Regions from separate parts of the Homo sapiens genome. Here regions 1, 2, 3, 4 and 5 are each linked to region 6. The links are contacts of gene promoters, found by promoter capture Hi-C in blood cells and fetal thymus (Javierre and others, 2016). All regions are on one chromosome and are shown on one strand. The core of a region is centred on a gene start or on the middle of the fragment in contact, and the rest is flanking DNA. Distances in the headings are between cores, read along the strand shown.

Evidence for each region. The method cuts DNA at HindIII sites, captures the fragments that hold promoters and counts their contacts. A CHiCAGO score of 5 or more calls a contact.
Region 1: a contact is called between a fragment that was not itself captured here and the fragment with the promoter of FJX1 in region 6, in 11 of 17 cell types (M0 macrophages, erythroblasts, naive CD8 T cells and 8 more). The highest score is 8.5, in M0 macrophages.
Region 2: a fragment that was not itself captured here is called in contact with the fragment with the promoter of FJX1 in region 6 in 2 of 17 cell types (naive CD4 T cells and total CD4 T cells); the score reaches 6.5 in naive CD4 T cells.
Region 3: a contact is called between a fragment that was not itself captured here and the fragment with the promoter of FJX1 in region 6, in 16 of 17 cell types (erythroblasts, megakaryocytes, M0 macrophages and 13 more). The highest score is 25.5, in erythroblasts.
Region 4: the fragment with the promoter of TRAF6 here is called in contact with the fragment with the promoter of FJX1 in region 6 in 9 of 17 cell types (naive CD4 T cells, monocytes, total CD8 T cells and 6 more); the score reaches 10.8 in naive CD4 T cells.
Region 5: a contact is called between a fragment that was not itself captured here and the fragment with the promoter of FJX1 in region 6, in 1 of 17 cell types (erythroblasts). The highest score is 5.2, in erythroblasts.

The regions. Positions count from the first base shown.
Region 1 is chr11:36,239,555-36,242,254 of GRCh38, reverse strand. No RefSeq gene overlaps it. Among named protein-coding and RNA genes, the nearest start is that of COMMD9, 49 kb to the left of the region's middle. The HindIII fragment of the contact is 2,195 bases long and covers 236-2,430 here.
Region 2 is chr11:36,491,905-36,494,898 of GRCh38, reverse strand. TRAF6 (TNF receptor associated factor 6) reads left to right here. Exons shown (of 7, transcript NM_004620.4): 6 at 2,271-2,348. Among named protein-coding and RNA genes, the nearest start is that of TRAF6, 17 kb to the left of the region's middle. The HindIII fragment of the contact is 9,692 bases long and covers 1-2,994 here.
Region 3 is chr11:36,257,711-36,260,410 of GRCh38, reverse strand. No RefSeq gene overlaps it. Among named protein-coding and RNA genes, the nearest start is that of COMMD9, 30 kb to the left of the region's middle. The HindIII fragment of the contact is 198 bases long and covers 1,227-1,424 here.
Region 4 is chr11:36,508,615-36,511,641 of GRCh38, reverse strand. TRAF6 (TNF receptor associated factor 6) reads left to right here and starts at 1,370. Exons shown (of 7, transcript NM_004620.4): 1 at 1,370-1,594. It also overlaps a transcript of RAG1 not described here. RefSeq lists an enhancer at 1,502-1,551. The HindIII fragment of the contact is 10,105 bases long and covers 1-3,027 here.
Region 5 is chr11:36,180,824-36,183,523 of GRCh38, reverse strand. All of the region lies in intron 4 of LDLRAD3 (low density lipoprotein receptor class A domain containing 3), which reads right to left. Among named protein-coding and RNA genes, the nearest start is that of COMMD9, 110 kb to the left of the region's middle. RefSeq lists a silencer at 691-985. The HindIII fragment of the contact is 1,362 bases long and covers 650-2,011 here.
Region 6 is chr11:35,616,763-35,619,709 of GRCh38, reverse strand. It overlaps FJX1 (four-jointed box kinase 1), which reads right to left and starts at 1,250. Exons shown (of 1, transcript NM_014344.4): 1 at 1-1,250. The coding sequence starts at 1,073. RefSeq lists enhancers at 1-295, 296-930 and silencers at 503-772, 783-1,042, 1,063-1,132, 1,230-1,391, 1,213-1,542 and 1 more. The HindIII fragment of the contact is 8,334 bases long and covers 1-2,947 here.

The DNA of each region.
Region 1 (2,700 bases), core at 84-2,583, 620 kb before region 6:
CCTGGGTGCTCTGCGGCAGTTTCTGGGAAAAGTCTCCTCTACTGCAACACCCCAGCCTGGGAGCAAGGATATCCAGCTCCAGTGCCTGTAAGTTGGGGGTTAGGTTTGAAGCAATAGCCTCTTTCTTCCTTTCCTGAATTCTGGCCTATAATGTATCAATACAGAGAACTGAACAAAATGGGGCTTAAAAGTCAGGTTCGAGAGTACGCAACCAAGACTGAGGCCAAATGAAGCTTTTCTTTCTACCTCTATCTGTGATGTCTCTGCAGAAATGGCCACACTGAGCATTCGATCTAGTTCCAGATGGAAGAGCTGTTGTCAGAGAGCAAACACCTGGCTCAGGCTTCCAGCAGTGGACTCTGCAGAGTCTGCTTTCCACCCAGAGATGGAGGGCAGGTATGCTCAGGGCACCTGTTTCATATGGTCCCATCAACTGGCAACTCTCCTACATGCATGCATCAGATAAGCTAGCCCTCCTCCAGCAGGGAAGAAGTAGCAAGGAGGGTGGAGAGAGAGCAGGTTCCCCTTTCAATGAGCCAGTATGGGGATGTGCAGATAGCAGGAACAAGAATCCTTTGGAGGAAGTAGCAGATGATTAGGGAGAGACCAGCTCAGTCTCTCAAAGGCTGGGGCCTTGGCAGATGCATGGGTAAGGTGGAAAGGGAACTTGGACCCAGACCATTGGGTTAAGATCCTACCTACCGTCATCACTTATGAGCTCTGTGACCTTGTGTGCAAGTTATTTAACCTCTTGGCTCACAGGTTTTGCATGTGTAAAATGGAGATAAGAGTGCCTATCTCATGAGATTGCTGGGTGGATTAAATGAGATAATGCCTTTAGAGCACCTAGCCCAGTGCCTGGCACAAAGGAAGTGCTAAATAAATGTTTATTTCCTTCCATAGTGGGAGGGTGGAAGAGGCGAGATTCTGAGACACAAGTCATGAGCTTAATCTGCTGTACTTGGTGTCATGTGGGCCCAGGACACTGCAGTGGATAAGCCATGGAGTACAATCCAAGAAAGTCCCCTGAAACTCTCCCCTCCACTCTGCCCCGTGAGCTGTTAGACCACACAATCTCTGTCCCCTGAACTCCTTCCTCTCCCCTGATGGCCTCTGTCTAGTTGGAGAGATGCTGAGAATATGCCCAGCATGAGTCCACCAGGCACCTGCCAACTGCCTGTCCCCTCCCTCCCTGCTTAGACAGATCACCCTTGTCAGACGCGGCAGCATCCCGCTTCATCACTCTAATTGCAGTGTGGTTTGCGTTCATCAAGGAAACAGCAGGGATTCCAAATTAAATTCCAACATGCAATTTAGTCAAGATATAAGGCCTATTGAGATACTATCTTCAGAATCCTCCCCCAGCCCTTTCTTTGAGAGGTAGAATTTCCCTGCTGTCAGTGCTGCCAAGCCCCATGCCTGTCTACTGGGACCAAGACTCTCTGGAATGGGGATTCTCCCTGGGCTGCTGGCCAGTTTCTCTCCCATTTTACAGACAGGGTTGTTGAGGCATAGAGAAGGGTCTTAGACACGGAAAAAGCCCTGGGGTGCATGGAAGCCAGGACTGGCCTGGGCTTGTCTATCTTTGGGAATTGTGCATAACAGAGTATCTTTCTGGCATACCCTGAGATGACAGAGGAGCCCATTCTGAGTGGTAGGAAGGGCCATGGATCTCATTGTGAAGAGCAGAACCATTCTATCAGCACTCGTTTGCTTGAAAGAGGCTTCTGAGCAGGGTGCAGGCACAAACCCACTCTCTCAGGCTTCATACCAATGGGCCAAGCCCTTCCTAGCAGACCTCTCGTCCAGGGGCTTCCTGACTGCTTCCTGCCCCCAGTTTCTGCCAACTCTGAAATGTTTCATGACACCAGAATTAAGATGACAAAGTCAGTGGGAAACCACAGATATGAGTGGGTGTGGTGGCTCACAGCTGTAGCCCCAGCATTTTGGAGGTGGAGGCAAGAGGATTGCTTGAGACCAGGAATTCGAGACCAGCCTGGGCAACATAGCAAGACCCTGTATCTACAAAAAATAAAAAAAATAAAAAATAAAAAAAATCCAGGTGCGGTGGCCTATGCCTGTAGTCCTAGCTACAGGGGAGGGTAAAGCAGGAGGATTGAATGCTGCAGTGAGCTGTGGCTGCATCACTACACTCCAGCCTGGGTGACAGAGCGAGACCCTATCTCTAAAAAAAAAAAAAAAAAAAAAGAAAGAAAAATTAAAAAAAGAAAACCACAGATGTGAAGAAGCAATTAAACTGGGAAGTCGCAGAGTGAGGACTGTTCTTCTGGCTCACTCCTTTAGTTCTGCCCAGACAGGCAGTGGGTATGTGCCCAGACTGAGAGCCTCTCTCCAGAGGAGCATCTGCCACGGCACCATCCACAGTCTGTGGTTGTTTACTGCCAGAGACAAATCCACCCCAAGTAAGCTTTGGACTCAGATGAGAAGTACAACAAAATGCCAAAACACCCTCTGGGGTCCAGGGATCCCTGCAGTGGGGGTTGGGGTACAGGGACACCAAAGTCATGTGAGCCGAAACCCTGGAAACTCAGCTAAAAAGAAGAGCTTCTGCAAAGCCAGCCCTGCCTGGCAAAGCTGCATTTCTCCAGAGGCCCTGGATTCAGCCCCGAAAACTGCACAGATTTCCAACCATTTGGTAGAAGGAGAACCATGGCTTTAGGGAACTGATTGATTTTGAGA
Region 2 (2,994 bases), core at 270-2,769, 870 kb before region 6:
AATCAATAAGGCAAAGAAATACAGATTGAAGAAGTATTAGAGCTGTGTGAAAATTTTTTATATAAATTAATATAAGTAATAAATACTTTCAGGGAGAACAAAACATCCAGCCCTTTTTAAGTACTTAAAATTCCTAAGTCATTAACATAATACCTGTGCTTTTGTATATTCATAAAAATTCCCAACAAAACCAATTTTAAGATAAAAATAATCAAAAGTAAGGGTCCCCATTTAAAGAAAGAAAAAACTAAGATATATATATATATATTTACACACTGTGAAATGAGGATCTCAAGTGTCCAGAGATTGGCTGAAAGAATAAGAGGGAACAGCGAAATAAAGGAAGGCAGTTCTGTTCAGTAGGAGAATAATATTTGTAGCTGTAATCCCTGAGGCATACAGGGAAGTTTTCAGATTTTTAGGACCTGTAGCCCTTCTGTTCAGTTGTCCTGTAGGCCACTGACCGGGCATCATTAGAAGTAGTAATTGTAATAGAAAATTATATGGTGGGGTTTTTTTGTTTCTTGAGATAGAGTCTCACTCTGTTGCCTAAGCTGGAGTGCATTGACACAGTCATGGCTCACTGCAGCCTCAAATTCCTGGCTCAGGCGATCCTCCTACCTCAGCCTCCCAAAGAGCTGGGACTACGGGCGTGCACCACCATGCCCGGCTAATTTTTTATTTTTTTAGATTTTTTGTAGAAACGGGGTCTTGTTATATTGCCTAGACTGGTCTCGAACTCCTGAGCTCAAGCAATCTACCTGCTTTAGCCTCCCACAGTGCTAGAATTATAGGTGTGAGCCACCAAGCCCAGCCCAAAGATTGTTTTGACTATTAGTAGAGAAAGGAAAATTCCATCTGATTGCTATCTTCTGACATTTGGGGAGTTTACCCACAAAATATGAATATTAACCATTAAATATTTATATACCCATGAAATCTGTAAACCCAGAGATCATTATTGATATACCTTACTGAGAAGCAGCAAGCAAAACCTGTCACTGGACAAGTTTGTTAACCTTAAAACTTTTTCATTGGTTTGTTAACAGTCTCTTAATTTTTCCAACAAAGCCTTAATTTGAAGGTGTTAAACATCTTTTGCTTATGAAGTCCTAACTCGTTTTCCTTTTTGCTGTCTTTTAACATTTAAAGGAAACCATGCAACAAATTAAAACCCAGCAAAAGAAAATACAAGAAAAAACCCTAGGCTAAGAGTCAGAAAACCTGGGTTTTAGTCCTAGGTTTAAACTGTGATTTTAACTGTGCCCTCTCATCTTTAACAAGTTGACATTCTAAATAGATCTGGGATCAGCAAACTGGCCTGCCAGCTAGATCTGTCTCTCTACCTGTTTTTGTAAATAAAGTTTTATTGAAAGACAGTCATACCCATGTGTGTATGTCTTGTGTATGGCTACTTTTGTATGACAATGGTAGAGTTTAATACTTAGGACAGAGGCAGTACAGCCCATATTTACTATCTGATCCTTTACAAAAAATTTTATTGGCCCCTGTTCTACACTGTTCCCTCTTGAGAAATGAAGGATTGAATTATAATAAATGGTCTCTCAGGTACTTCCTGTTTGAAATATCTACAACTATAGCTACATTAAATTTCTAAAGGGAATTTGGCACCTCTTTGAAAAAATATGATTGAGTATAAAGGATCTTACCTTAGAGAATGTGTCTTAGAGTCCCAAAATCCAGGACTGAGACTTTTTTTAGAGCTTCTATTAATGTGTTTAAAGTACCTTCTAACATCTGAGTCTCCCCATTGTAGCTAAAATATGCCCAGCTTAACAAAAGTTAAGAAGATTGTTGAAAGGTGGTCAAAGATGATTTTTGAGAGGTGGTCATGAGGCAAGTATGGGTGTAGTCAGTGGCTTCAGTGCATGCAGTTGACTGGTTCCTATTAAATGGCCTAGACCATAGTGGGAGTCTTAATCCAGTTTGCACTTGTAGCTATTGTTAGGTGTTTTTTCTGTAAAGTGCCACTAGAGGGTGCCAGTTCCCAGCAAGAGGAACAAATTCATTTTCTTGAAATGAATTTTGGATAATTGGAGGGGATATTATGAGATGTTGATATTTCCTTTCTCTATAACTTTTGAAAGTAGATGTTCTTTTAATTTTTGTGGGTGATGGTTTATGCTGCACCTATTCAACTGCCAATGTGGTACAAAGCAGCCATTGACAATACAGTTTAAATGTGATCGCATCAAACTAGAAAATGATATGCAAGGAAGAGATTTTTCAGCCTTTGTTTTGGATTTCAGATGCCTAATCATTATGATCTAGACTGCCCTACAGCCCCAATTCCATGCACATTCAGTACTTTTGGTTGCCATGAAAAGGTAAGGTTTTTTTTTCTTTTAATTCTTGAATATAAGTAAAAAAAAATATTTACATCATGTAGTGGAGAATAACAACAAGAATGTAGATGTAGTTGTAAAGCAGTGTAATAAGTGATATAATAGAGTTATTCATGGATGCTGTGAGCAGAAGCAAAGGCATACTTAGCAATGCCTAAAGCATTCAGACAGACTTGACAAAACATGATGCTTTGGGCTGAATCTTGACAGGTGAAATAGTTTTCCAAGAAGACAAAGGAGAGAAGACCAGTGAGAAAGAGTGAGCATGGTGATTTGAGGAACTACAAGTAGTTTGTGTTGTGCTAGTTCAACCCAATAGCAATGTAGATGATTTGAGGTGGAGGTGGGGGTACTAGTACCTGAGCTGTTGGAATACCTAAGTGAAGACAGCTTGAATTATGGCGATGACCGTCAAGATAGACCTAGGAGCCAGTACATATTTAGGAGAGAAGATCTACTGCCTGTGTGACTAAATAAATGTGATGAGTGAAGGAGAGGGAGGCGTCTAGAATGACTCTTGGTTTCTGGCCTTTGTCACTGGGTAGATGGAAGGGCCATTCGGCAAAAAAGAGTGAACACAGGAAGAACTGACTGGAGGTAGAGTTTAAAAAAAAAATCTGTTTTAATG
Region 3 (2,700 bases), core at 76-2,575, 640 kb before region 6:
AAAGTGGTATTGTGATCTCAGAGTTTTTTTGTCTCTATTGAGACACAGTCAGAGCCTGTTCTGGCCCAGGGCAATGATGGGGAGGTACAGGGGTTGTGGACCATGTCAAGGGACCCCCGGGGAGGCTGAGCTGGGGACATGACATCTGACTGAGACTGGAAGCATAAGTAAGAGTTAGCCAGAGGGTAACAGCTCTTGCTATCTTGGATGGCTGGGAAGGGATATGCAGAGATCAGGAATCCCTAGTGCTGACTCGGGCCAGGCAGCGTCAGGAGTCTCAAGAAAACAAACCCTGGAGATTGGCAGGTCTGAGAGCAGGGCGGGGGGCCACACCAGTCTCGTTCACCTTCTATCCCCAGTGCTTAGTCTTTGGCACGTGGTAGGTCGTTGGTGAAAGGTTGAGGGGAAGCACATGCCATGGGGACTGGAAACCCCATCCCACTCATGTCACTGCTGAGGGTCATCACAAGAAAGCCCCCCAGGCCATGGTCCCTCTGAATGAGAAGCGTCTACGGATAGCAGCGGCAGGACTATTTGCCCTGCTAGTCTCCCCTCCTCAGACCTCAATTGAGCCTTTAGCTGCCCCAGTGAACATGTCCTACTGGCCCAGCCTCAGTTCTGCTCCCTCCCCTGATAAAGGAGGGAGGGACACAGGGAAGATGGCCAGGCAGAGGGACAGCGCATGCAAAGGCTCAGAGGAGACAGTGAAGGGCTCAGAACTGACTGCAGGAATTCACGCTCATTCAGTCTGGCTGGAACCTCCAACTCATGGGCCTGTAATTCTTTGATTCCTGTTTTTTTTTCTACTAGGCTATGAGGTTTATAAGGGCGGGGCCTGTGCCCTTTTCCTCCATCCCTTTCTCTTTTTCCTCCCTCCCTTCTTTTCTTCCTTCCCTGCTTCTTTCCTCATTTTGCCTCTTGGCTATATCACTGGTGTCTCAAATATTGGTGAGTGAGTGAGTGAATGGACTTAGGTCTGGGAGGTTGCCCCAGGGAGAACCAAGTCTTGAGTGGTCTGCATTTGTTCTGAAGCTCTTTCTCCTCTCTTCTGTCCCTCTCCACCAGCACAGTGGTTCCCAGGGGTGCCTCTACAGCACCTTCATGCCGTCTCCAGCCCAGCAGTCCCCAGCTGCTCCTGCATGCTGGAGGTGGGGCTGCTGGGAGCCTGGCCAGCTGTGGGAGAGTAGGAAGAAGTGGGTCCCTGCTGACCTGTCCTTCCTTAAGCTTTGTCCTGGACCTTTTCCCTCTGAACCTTGCTGCCGACGAAGATGGAGCACCTGCGGAAGCTCTGTACTCCATCCAGACAAACAGTGGAAGCTGCACGGATAGTCCTCCCCAGGGCTGGAGCTGCCAGGGCTCAGAGGCTACCACAACACAGAACTCTGGGCCTCACTACACACGTGTCCTGGCCTCATCCTGAAGCTTCTCACTTTTCTAAGCTATGCATTCAGCGATTCCTGCAGGGGGAGCACTAGTCCAGAAAGAAGGCCCGCCATCAGCTGCCCAGTCCCGGGGTAAGTCGCCTGCCCTCCCATCTGCTGAGCCCTGGGATAAAAGAGACTCGCTCATGCTAGGAATGGGGCTGGAATCAGGTACTCCTCCCAAACCCTTTTTATCCTAGACAGTGCAGACCTGGCTGTGATCTGCCTCCTTTCCTCAGAGCCCCACCCTGTGGCACCGTCAAGTGAGGCTCCTTTGTGATCGCTCCCTCACGAGTTGTAAAGAGCGGTTCTCTTCTCTGTTCACAACGTGGGGCCATTTGCCATGCCCTTCAGTCCCACTGTCCACACTAGTTTAGGTGTAGCCCTCACCTGGACTCCTGACATCCTCCTAACAGGCTTCACCCCTTCTGTTGTCCCCTGAAATCCATTCTGTGCCAGATGGCTGAGTGGTCACTTTAAACCCATCAGATGTCATCACTCTTACACTTAAAACCTGCCACGAGGCTCACCATAACACCTGCGCTCCTTGTCCCAGCCTCCCCGGCTCAGTGGGCCCCCTCTCCTCCCTGCACTTTCCCCAGGCATGCTGACCTCCCTCTGTTCCTCAATCACATTGAACTCCCTTCTGCACAAGACCTTGGCACCAACTCTTTGGTCACCCTAGAATACACTTCCCCCAGATCCACATGTGGCTGCGCAGGGTTCAGCCCCAGTGTGACCTTCTCAGGGAGGCTTCCTTGACCACTCAACCCAAAGTCACAGAGCATCTTTTTTACATATCACACTTGCTGAAATGATCTTGTTTGGCATTGTCTGTGTACTCCCACTGGAAGACAAGCTCTAGGAGAGTGTGAACCCTGTTTGTCATTTTCACTGTGGGGTCCCCACCTTCTGGAGCTTGAATTCCCTTCTCTTTAGAGCTCTGCGGGAGCTATATCTTTGTCACGGTTCTGAATCTTTTCAACAAACACTTTTGTTAGGCAGGAGGTCCAGCAGCCCCTTGCTTTTGGTTTTCAAAACTTAACTAAGATTCACAAATTAGAGCTCAGATCCAATCTCAGAGGACAGAGAATACTCCAGTTGATTGGCTTCTCTTTCTTTGATGTGAAGCCCTTTCATTTCTCCTACCTGCCTGCTGCCTTGCCCCACGCCATCTGCCTCCACCCTCCACAGACGGGCCCCTGGCCCCAGCCCTACTCCCTTGCCACCCATCCATCAAAGGAAGACAAGATCGGCTCAGGAGCCCCTGAGCTTATCT
Region 4 (3,027 bases), core at 121-2,620, 890 kb before region 6:
GTTTCAAAATACAATCTTTTAAAAGGGGGTTGACAGAACCTGAGAACCAGTGATAAATTCTTCTTAAAAAGAGAAGCATTTTTAATGAATATTGGCAGCCAGAAAGTAGGACATATAGTATTGGTAACATTTATTGAGCCCATACTATGTCCTAGTTTTGGGTTTATTTGTTTGTTCGTTTGTTCCTTGAGACAGGGTCTCACTCTGTCACCCAGGCTGGAATGCAGTGGTGCAATCATGGCTTACTGTAGCCTTGACTGCCAGGGCTCAAGCCATCCTCCCACCTCAGCCTCCAGAGTAGCCGAGACTACAGATATGCACCACCACACCCAGGTAATTTTTAAATTTTGTGTAAAGATGGGGTCTCACTATGTTGCCCAGGCTGGTCTCAAATTCCTGGCCTCAAGTGATCCTCCTGCCTTAGCCTCCCAAAGTACTGGGATTATAGGCATGAGCCTATTTGTGCCTGGCCAGATAGTTTTAAATAATTTCTTTACATATTTTATCTCATCCTTCCAACAACCCTGTGAGGTAGATACTATTATTATCCCCATGTTAATACGAGATGAGAAAACTGAAACAAGTACAGATTAAGTATTTTACCTGAATCACACATTTATTGTAGGAAAAACCGGATTGGAACCAAGCATTCTGGCTTCAGGATACATACGCATGACTACTATCCTGGAAAACCTCCCCTAAGAGGTGGACGATGAACCAAATATGCAGAGGTGGATGAAACTCTTTTGTGCTTCTCCAGCAAAACGCGTGGTACATTCTCTAGACGTTTATGACCAGTTAAACAGGGAATTTAAAATAGTTTTCCCATGACAGAGAAAGACAAAGCGCTGGTGTTCTTGGCAGGAAATTCAAAGAAATATTTAAGGCAAGGGCTGACTCCCTTGGACCGGATGAAGGGGAAGAGCAGGTAATAATAGAGGGTTCTATGGATCGCAGAAACTTCCTGGGCAAGGAGGGTGGAGCTGGGGAGGGGTTTAAGAATTCCTGAAGGTCAAGCGATCTAGCCCAGCTGGGGTTTTCTCCTGCTTGGAGAGGGGTGCTATAAAAGCGCAGTTTGGGATTACTACTGTCGCCACTGCTCACCAAATTAAGTTATTCCGGGAGGGATCTTCTCGTCGCCATCCTCATTCCAACACACACCCATTGACACACTCGGGTTCGGCTGTGCGGTGCAACGAATTCCCAGGTGGGACACCCGAGCAGGAAGAAAGCCAGGCTGCGGGGCTGGGGGCGCCGCCCGGCCCGCGCCACAGTCCGCCTGGAGGATCACCGCCAGGGGGCACTCTCTCCGAACTCGGCCGCTCTGTCTCCTCCCCGGCGCGCTCCCTGCCCCTCGCTCCCCGCAGCCAGCAGAGAAGGCGGAAGCAGTGGCGTCCGCAGCTGGGGCTTGGCCTGCGGGCGGCCAGCGAAGGTGGCGAAGGCTCCCACTGGATCCAGAGTTTGCCGTCCAAGCAGCCTCGTCTCGGCGCGCAGTGTCTGTGTCCGTCCTCTACCAGCGCCTTGGCTGAGCGGAGTCGTGCGGTTGGTGGGGGAGCCCTGCCCTCCTGGTTCGGCCTCCCCGCGCACTAGAACGGTGAGTCTCCTTCAGGCGCCTCCTCCTGGCGGCCGCCGCCTCGCTTCCCAGCGGTCAGGGACGCCGCCCCCCGCCCCTTCGCTCTCGGCAGGTCGGGGACGCAGTCCCTGTCCCCTCGCTTCCCACCAGTCGGGGACGCCTCCCCTGTCCCTTCGCTTTTCACAGGTCAGGGACGCCGCCCCTACCCGCTTGCTTCCCACGGGTCGGGGACGCCGCCCCTGTCCTCTCGCTTCCCGCTGGTCGAGGACACCGTTCCCTGCCCCTCGCTTCCTGCAGGTCGGGACGCAGCCTCTGTCCCCACGCTTCCCACAGGTCGGGGACACCGTTCCCTGTCCCCTGACCTCTGCTCCCCAGGCCTCCTCTTCCTCGCTCATTCCACCCCCTAAAAAACCCCGCGTCGCCTTACTCAACCTCGCTCCCCTCAACTCCGCTTTTTCCCCTTCCCAGATAAGGAAATTGCCTCCTGCAGTTGTCCGCTCCTTGGAGCAAACACCTGCTTAAATTTTTAAAAAATCCTTTACGTTCCTGGCGACTCCGGCTGTCACTGTCATGGGAAAGCTATTTTTGGATTCCCTGTTGAACTCTATAGAAGTCTCAGGCAGCGAGTTTAAAAAAAAAAAAAGGCTCAGATGACACGAATGTTTTCTCCCCCGCCCCTAAACTCGGTAGTTCGAGCGATTGTTCCAGACGCCGGGTTGATAAAGCTGTTCCTAGTATTTGGCTTAAGGGGAACTCCAGCTGAGTTAGGACTGTCTTGAATGTGAACAGAAAGCACCTAAATAAAGTATTAGCAGCTTCGCTGTATGGTATTTAATTGTTTCTTTCTCTGAGAGCAGATTACTATTACTGAATGTCTTGTTACACAGGTTCCATGTAGAAACGAGAAAAACTGGTAAAGAAATTCTGTGTTGGCCTTGTGAACTTGGCCGCTATCATTTCATTCATTCTCCTTTGATTACTAGGGAAGGGAGAGGGGCTTTTCAAATTTTGAGGTTGAGTGTATAGGCAGGAACAATGTGGCCTCTTTTGTGACTCTAGGAAGGAGTCCGGCATGTGGTGGGTACAGGATCACATCAGAGTTTCAGCCTGCATGCACCACAATATTTCAGAATTGTAACATGAGCTCTTCTCTGTGATAAATTTGGGCATGTGATGCCGGTAAACTTTTGGACACTTAGATTTGGAGAGAAGTTCAAATCCTTGCCTCCTGGAGCAGAGTAAATAGTGCCCAGGAAGGGGAATGCCCCTTGAATTTGGATTCAAAGTTAAGGCACAACAGTTGAGTATTTTGCAGCATCTCTTGGCCATTGGAGTACATTTGTAGGTCTTCACACTTTAGAAATTTAAGAAGCTGGTAAACAGTTTCTGTTTCTAAAGCTAGTAGCACATTAAAGATAATTTCTCATATTTTCTTTACATGGTTTTACTTCAAT
Region 5 (2,700 bases), core at 81-2,580, 560 kb before region 6:
CAAACTAGACTAAGTTTTTCACCCTTCACTGACTGCAACCTTTTCATCCAGCATAGCTGGACAGAGTGTGCAATATTTCTCCACGTAATATGGTCAACATGTTTTACTTTAATCCAATAGAGGTTTAGATAGGAAAATCAAAACATATTTTGAAAACCAGTATTTCTAACTTTCCAAAGCAAAAAATCTTTTACAAAGCAAGTAATCACACCCTAGTTCTGCTTTGAGTAGGTTGAAATTTATTACCTTTGCTTAAATTAAGGTTTGTAAAAGTACATGCTGCTTTTCTTTCATTCACACCAGCTTGTGAAGTGTCTCCCAAAAGTTAACTAACACCGTGTGTCTAGGGCTGGATCACTTAAGCTCTCTGGGTCTCCCACCTTCCCACCATCCCACCGTCTACGTCCCACCATCTACAGTGCCTGGGACCCTGTAAGTACTCAAAAACTAGAAGCCATTATTCATAAATGATAAATTCAATTTTGTATTGTGGTCCCAACTGGATAGGCCCCCTTCTTGTTTCCTCATCCCTTTAAATTCCTTGTGCTTCTTCAAAGACAACAACTTCTTGACACAACTGTCTTAGCCTAGCTCCTTGGTTTAATGCTTAATATCAGGCTCTGCATGTGTTTAACAAAAACCAAAAGCTTGCATTATTAAACTGAGACACACAGCCCCCAGTCATTCCAGGAATGCCTTCCCAAAGACACAGAAGACAATAGATGAAGGGGGATGTCTGTGGTTTGTCATCATGGTCTTCTCTGCAGAACGGTAGCATGCACTATTAGGGGTCTGCAAGAGCTTCAACAGGGAACTGAAGGTGAGTGGCAACATTCCACAATCCCTACTCCAGGGGAAGTGAACAAGGGGCTTGTGGAACTTCAGATACCAAGAGGAGGAGCAAATCTCCTAGGCCTGCAAATGCTCTAATAAGCAGCCAACGTTGCCAAGATTGGAGCCCACTCACTCCCTGTCTTCTTGAAGGGGAAATCAAATGAGGAGAGAAAAAAAATAGTTTGTTGAAATGATGCCAAAATTTTGAGCCAAGAGGACCGAATTCTGAAGGTCACTCAAAGGTACTGTACTTCTACCTATATTTCTCTACTTTCTAAGTCTCTATACTACCTTTCTTTTTTTTTGCGGGGGCAGGTGGAGGGGAGAGTGGTCTTCTTGCTCTGACAAACCTATATACCTCTTGGTGATAAGCACTATGTAGTTTCAAGCCTCATATATTCTATCTGGAAAGGACTGATTCACAAACAACCTCACACCCTGGACACAATTCCATCCTGGGGATCATTTCCAAGCAAGAGGAATGCGGAGTCACCTCCTATTTAAAGCTGATCAATTTCTTTACCTTCATTCTCCTCACTTCAATGATTTGTTACTGGCTACTTCCACCACTCCTGTCTAGATAAGCTCCTCCTTTCTGTTATCTGCAGGCTCAGATCAGTGTCAAGGCCAAAGTCAGAGAGGGAGGGAAGGCACAATAAGATGCTTCCTAGCAGCTAAGGTCACTCAGTCTGACTTTTTATTTCTGATGCTTTGGGTCAATTGTGAGATAAGGATGTGCATATGTGTATTACAGAGAGAGAAACAGTGAGAGAGAGAAAGTGTGAGAGACAGAGACAGAAACAGAGAGAGAGAGGAGACGGTTGACAACTGACTTCCATCCTCTCATCCCCACTCAGGGCCTTCTAACTAACAATTTAATGACACTTACATTTTCAAAATGTTATCCAACCATTAGTAATTGAGGACCTTTTCAGAAACAATGTTGGGCTGCCTTCTCAGGAGAGAAGGAAAGCTGTAATTAGAAATACGGCAGTGTATTCAAAGAGGCCACATTTAATTAGTCGATTTTAATTTAATTTAGGTAGGGTCTATATAAGACAGCTCATATCCAACCCCACAGCAGGAGATGCCAGAGGCGTTTCGGAGGCTCCATGTGAAAACCTAGGGTGCTTGTTCCCAGGGACGGTCTGGACTTTGGAGTCTGAAGGCCTAAGCTTGAGCCCCTGCCCTCAGGAGCTTGGCCTTGGAAAAGACACTTCACCTGACTCTGTTTCCTCATCTGCAAAATGTGGATAATAAAGCTACCTACATTTCAAAGGCTGATAACAGGATTACTGGGAGGTGATGCTTATCCAGCACTTAATTAGCTCAGGGCTCAGGACACAGTAATTTGTGGAAAAATAGCTGCAAAAAGACAGAGAACAATAAGCAGGGGTAGTGAGGAAGGCTTATTTTTTCACCTTAGTCCTGTAATTCTTAGATTTTTTTTTTTTTTTTTACCATGTGTAGGTATTACTTTTGTAATGAAAGCTAACTAGTTATTTTAAAGACTAGCCAGAGTTTTGAAGTGGTGCCAGCAGTTAATACATTTTATTGGGAGAGGTCAGCATCTGATCGTTAAAAAGTTAACATTGAGCCACACACGGGGACAAGAGTCACCAATCTCTGCCCGAGATCAGCTACCCAAGGCCACACTGAATTTCAGGAGGTAATATATCCCTAGCTGAGTTCCTGATGTGTTCTTTCTGCAATGTGTGCCCCTGCCCCATCTCTGTTACTGGTAGCTCCGTCCTTCCATTTCTTTAGGCCAAAAACCTTGGTGCCATCCTTAGCGATTCTCTCACACTCTACATCAAATCCACAAGCAATTCCAATGGTCTCTACTTTCCAAGCATGGCCCGCACT
Region 6 (2,947 bases), core at 1-2,500:
TCGTTATACTTGTCCCACATGCCTGCTACCCGGTAGCCGTGCACCAAGCCCGCCTCATTGTCCAGAAAGACCAGCGCCCCGCCCGGACCGCGGTGCAGGTTGCTGGTGGCACGCTGCATGACGCGCGGGTCCCACTGCAGGCTGAAGAGGTTGCTTACGAGCCGGTCGAAGTTGGCCGTCAGGTAGTCGAAAAGGATTAAGTCGGTCCATTGTACTAGGTCCACCAGCTCCGCCTGGCTGAGGTTGGCCAGCTCACCCCCGGCATCCCGGAGGGGGCGCAGACGGCCGTCCTCCGAGCGCCAGGGCGCGGGCACCACCACGTCCGTGAGGTTGGGCAGCCAGCGTGTCAGGCTCACCACGCTGCCCTCGGTCCAGTGCGCAGCGCGCAGCTCCTCCTGCACCTGCGCCCACTGCGCGCCCCGAGCCTCCACCCGAGCCAGTGCCAGCGGCGGCACGTGGCGCTGGAGGCCCAGCAGGCGCGCCAGATAGTAAGACAGGGCCTCGCCCTGAATCTGCTCCGGGTTGATGCCGTAGCGCACGCAGGCGCGGGTGCCGTCGGCAAAACGGGCCAGTCGGTTGGAGCTGCGCCCGCAACCCCCGCGCTCCAGGGCCACCATCCGGGCGCCGCGAGCCGCCTCCAGCCACGCCGCCGCCTGGGCCTCCGAAAAGCCCGGGGGCACCTGCTCCTCCAGGCCGCGGCTCCAGAAGACGCCCCCGTGCACCGCGGCGCTCTCCTCCGGCCGGGGCTGCCTGGCTGACACGTGCCACCTGGGCTCGCTCCGGGACTGCCGGGGCGGGCCGTCCGCGCCGGCCGCCAGGGTGAGCAGCGCCCGGAAAGTTTTCAGGGAGCCGCCGCGGGCGTCCCACGCCAGGGGCGGGGGCAGAGGGAAGCGAGGCGCGGGCGCGGGGCCGCCGCTCCGGGCCGGGCGCCGTGGGAGTCGGTCTTCGGGCGGCCGGGAGGCGGGCAGCTCGGTCCGCGGCGGCAGGAGCCCTCCCCACAGCGCCAGCAGCGAGCCCAGCGCCAGCAGCCAGAGCCCCGCGGTGGCGGCGGCGCCCCGCATCCTCCTGCCCATGCTCCCGCGGCTGTGCCGGTGCGCCGCCGCCGCTTCAAGCCGAGCCCAGGCACCCGGGTCCCGGCGGCGAGGCGGGCCCGGCAGTTTGTGGGCTCCGGGGCTTCGGGCGCTTCGGCCCCATCGCGGCCGCGGGGCGCTGCGGGGCTCTGTCCGGCGCTCCGCCCGGCGCTGGGAACTCGAGTCCCCGCCGCTTCCCAGCTGCTTTTGTATTTCGCTGTGAGACCCTCCGGTGGGCGCGATTCACAGGCGCCCGGACCACGTGGGAGCCAGGGGGATCCCCCTCCCCCTCCTCCGCCTCCGCTCCCCGCCCCCCGCTCCCCCGCCCCCTTCCTCTCCTCTTCCACTTAAAGCGGCGATGGCTCCTTCCGAGAGGGAGAGGCGGCCCCACACTCGGTCCGGGACTTGGGGGCCTGGAGGAAGCCGGACTGGCTGCGCCCGCGCCGGGGCGTAGGAGGGGGTGGCGCAGAGCCGGAGTCTGGGGCCTGGCGGGAGGGACGCGCCCTGGGCCCTCGCGGGGGTGTCTTGGTCGCCGGGTCCCTTTGCCTAGGCAGCGCGGGTCTCCTGCAAACTTCAGACAGATTTCCACCTCTTTCCGAGCTCCGCCAGGCTAGGATCAGGCAGGGTCCCTTTGCTTTCTCAGTTTCTGTCTGGGTGATTCACGCTGCTTTATGTAAATCTCTGGGAATGTCTCCGAGCCACAGAGGATGTGATTCCAGCGGAAAGAGGAACCCGCTGTAGCCAACAACTTTGAACCGACACTCCCTTTTCCGAGCTCGCACATCAGCACCAATCAGTATTGGCCGCTCTGCCTTTCCCAACGGACTCCCAGGGAATGAAGCCTCGCTGTGCACGTGCCCCTTGAACACCTAGGCCATCTCCCATTCATTCATGCATCCATTCAACACAGCGACTGCCCCTCAGTTCTGGTTCTGCTTACCAGAAGCAAAATCCACAGATCCGGGTCCCAGTGCTGCTGAAATTTACATTCCAGTGGGACTCTCAGGTTGCTAAGAGAGATTATAGCCATCCAACCTCGTGTTGGGGAGAGGGGAGTCAGGGACGACTTTTCGAAAGAAATGATACCGTTTTGTCCATGAGGAAACTGAGGCACAGAGAAGGGATGGGTGTTGCTCAGGATTGCACAATTAGCAAGGGGCGAAGCTAAAAGTCAAACTCAGGTCTCCTGGCCGCATGCACTTGATTTTCCCTCCATTAAGAAAGATCAGTATTTTTTTTTTAATCAAGTCAGCATTCTCAAGTTTGAAATTCACTGTCATTTGACCACTTTGTTCCCCAAATGTGATTTTTCAATTAAAAGGATTTTTCAAATGGAAAGGAAAAAAACCTCAATCCCATACTGCATTTGATTTACTGCTTTTACGATTTAAGGGAAAAAGAAATGGTGGTGGTGGTGGGGGAGGGAGGTGGTGAAGGAGCAAAGAAAACAAAATGAACAACCTCTTCACCCCAACACATCTTCCAGCCACCTCTGGGTTACATTTACCAGGAAAACTTGGATGCCAGTCGGCCCTCCCTTACCTCTCTGTATCAGAATGAGTCCCAGATCCACACTGAGATTCCCAGGGTAGACACAAGATCAGGGGCATGGTGGAATCCACCTCTCAAAGGCCAGAGTTTGAAATCTGTTTCCTTACATGGTGTGTATCTTTTCTCTCCTTTCATCTTCCCATCAGGTGCACATGGGGGTTTTCAACTGGACTACCTCATCAGTTGGCACTGATTATGTTTTATTCTCCAAAGAAAAAACGTTCTAGGGTGATAGAGCGTTCCAGGGTGATAAAGCAGACACTCTTATGTTTATGGCTGAGCAGAGGCATCAAAAAACCACATTTGGAGTATTGCAGCACTGACCC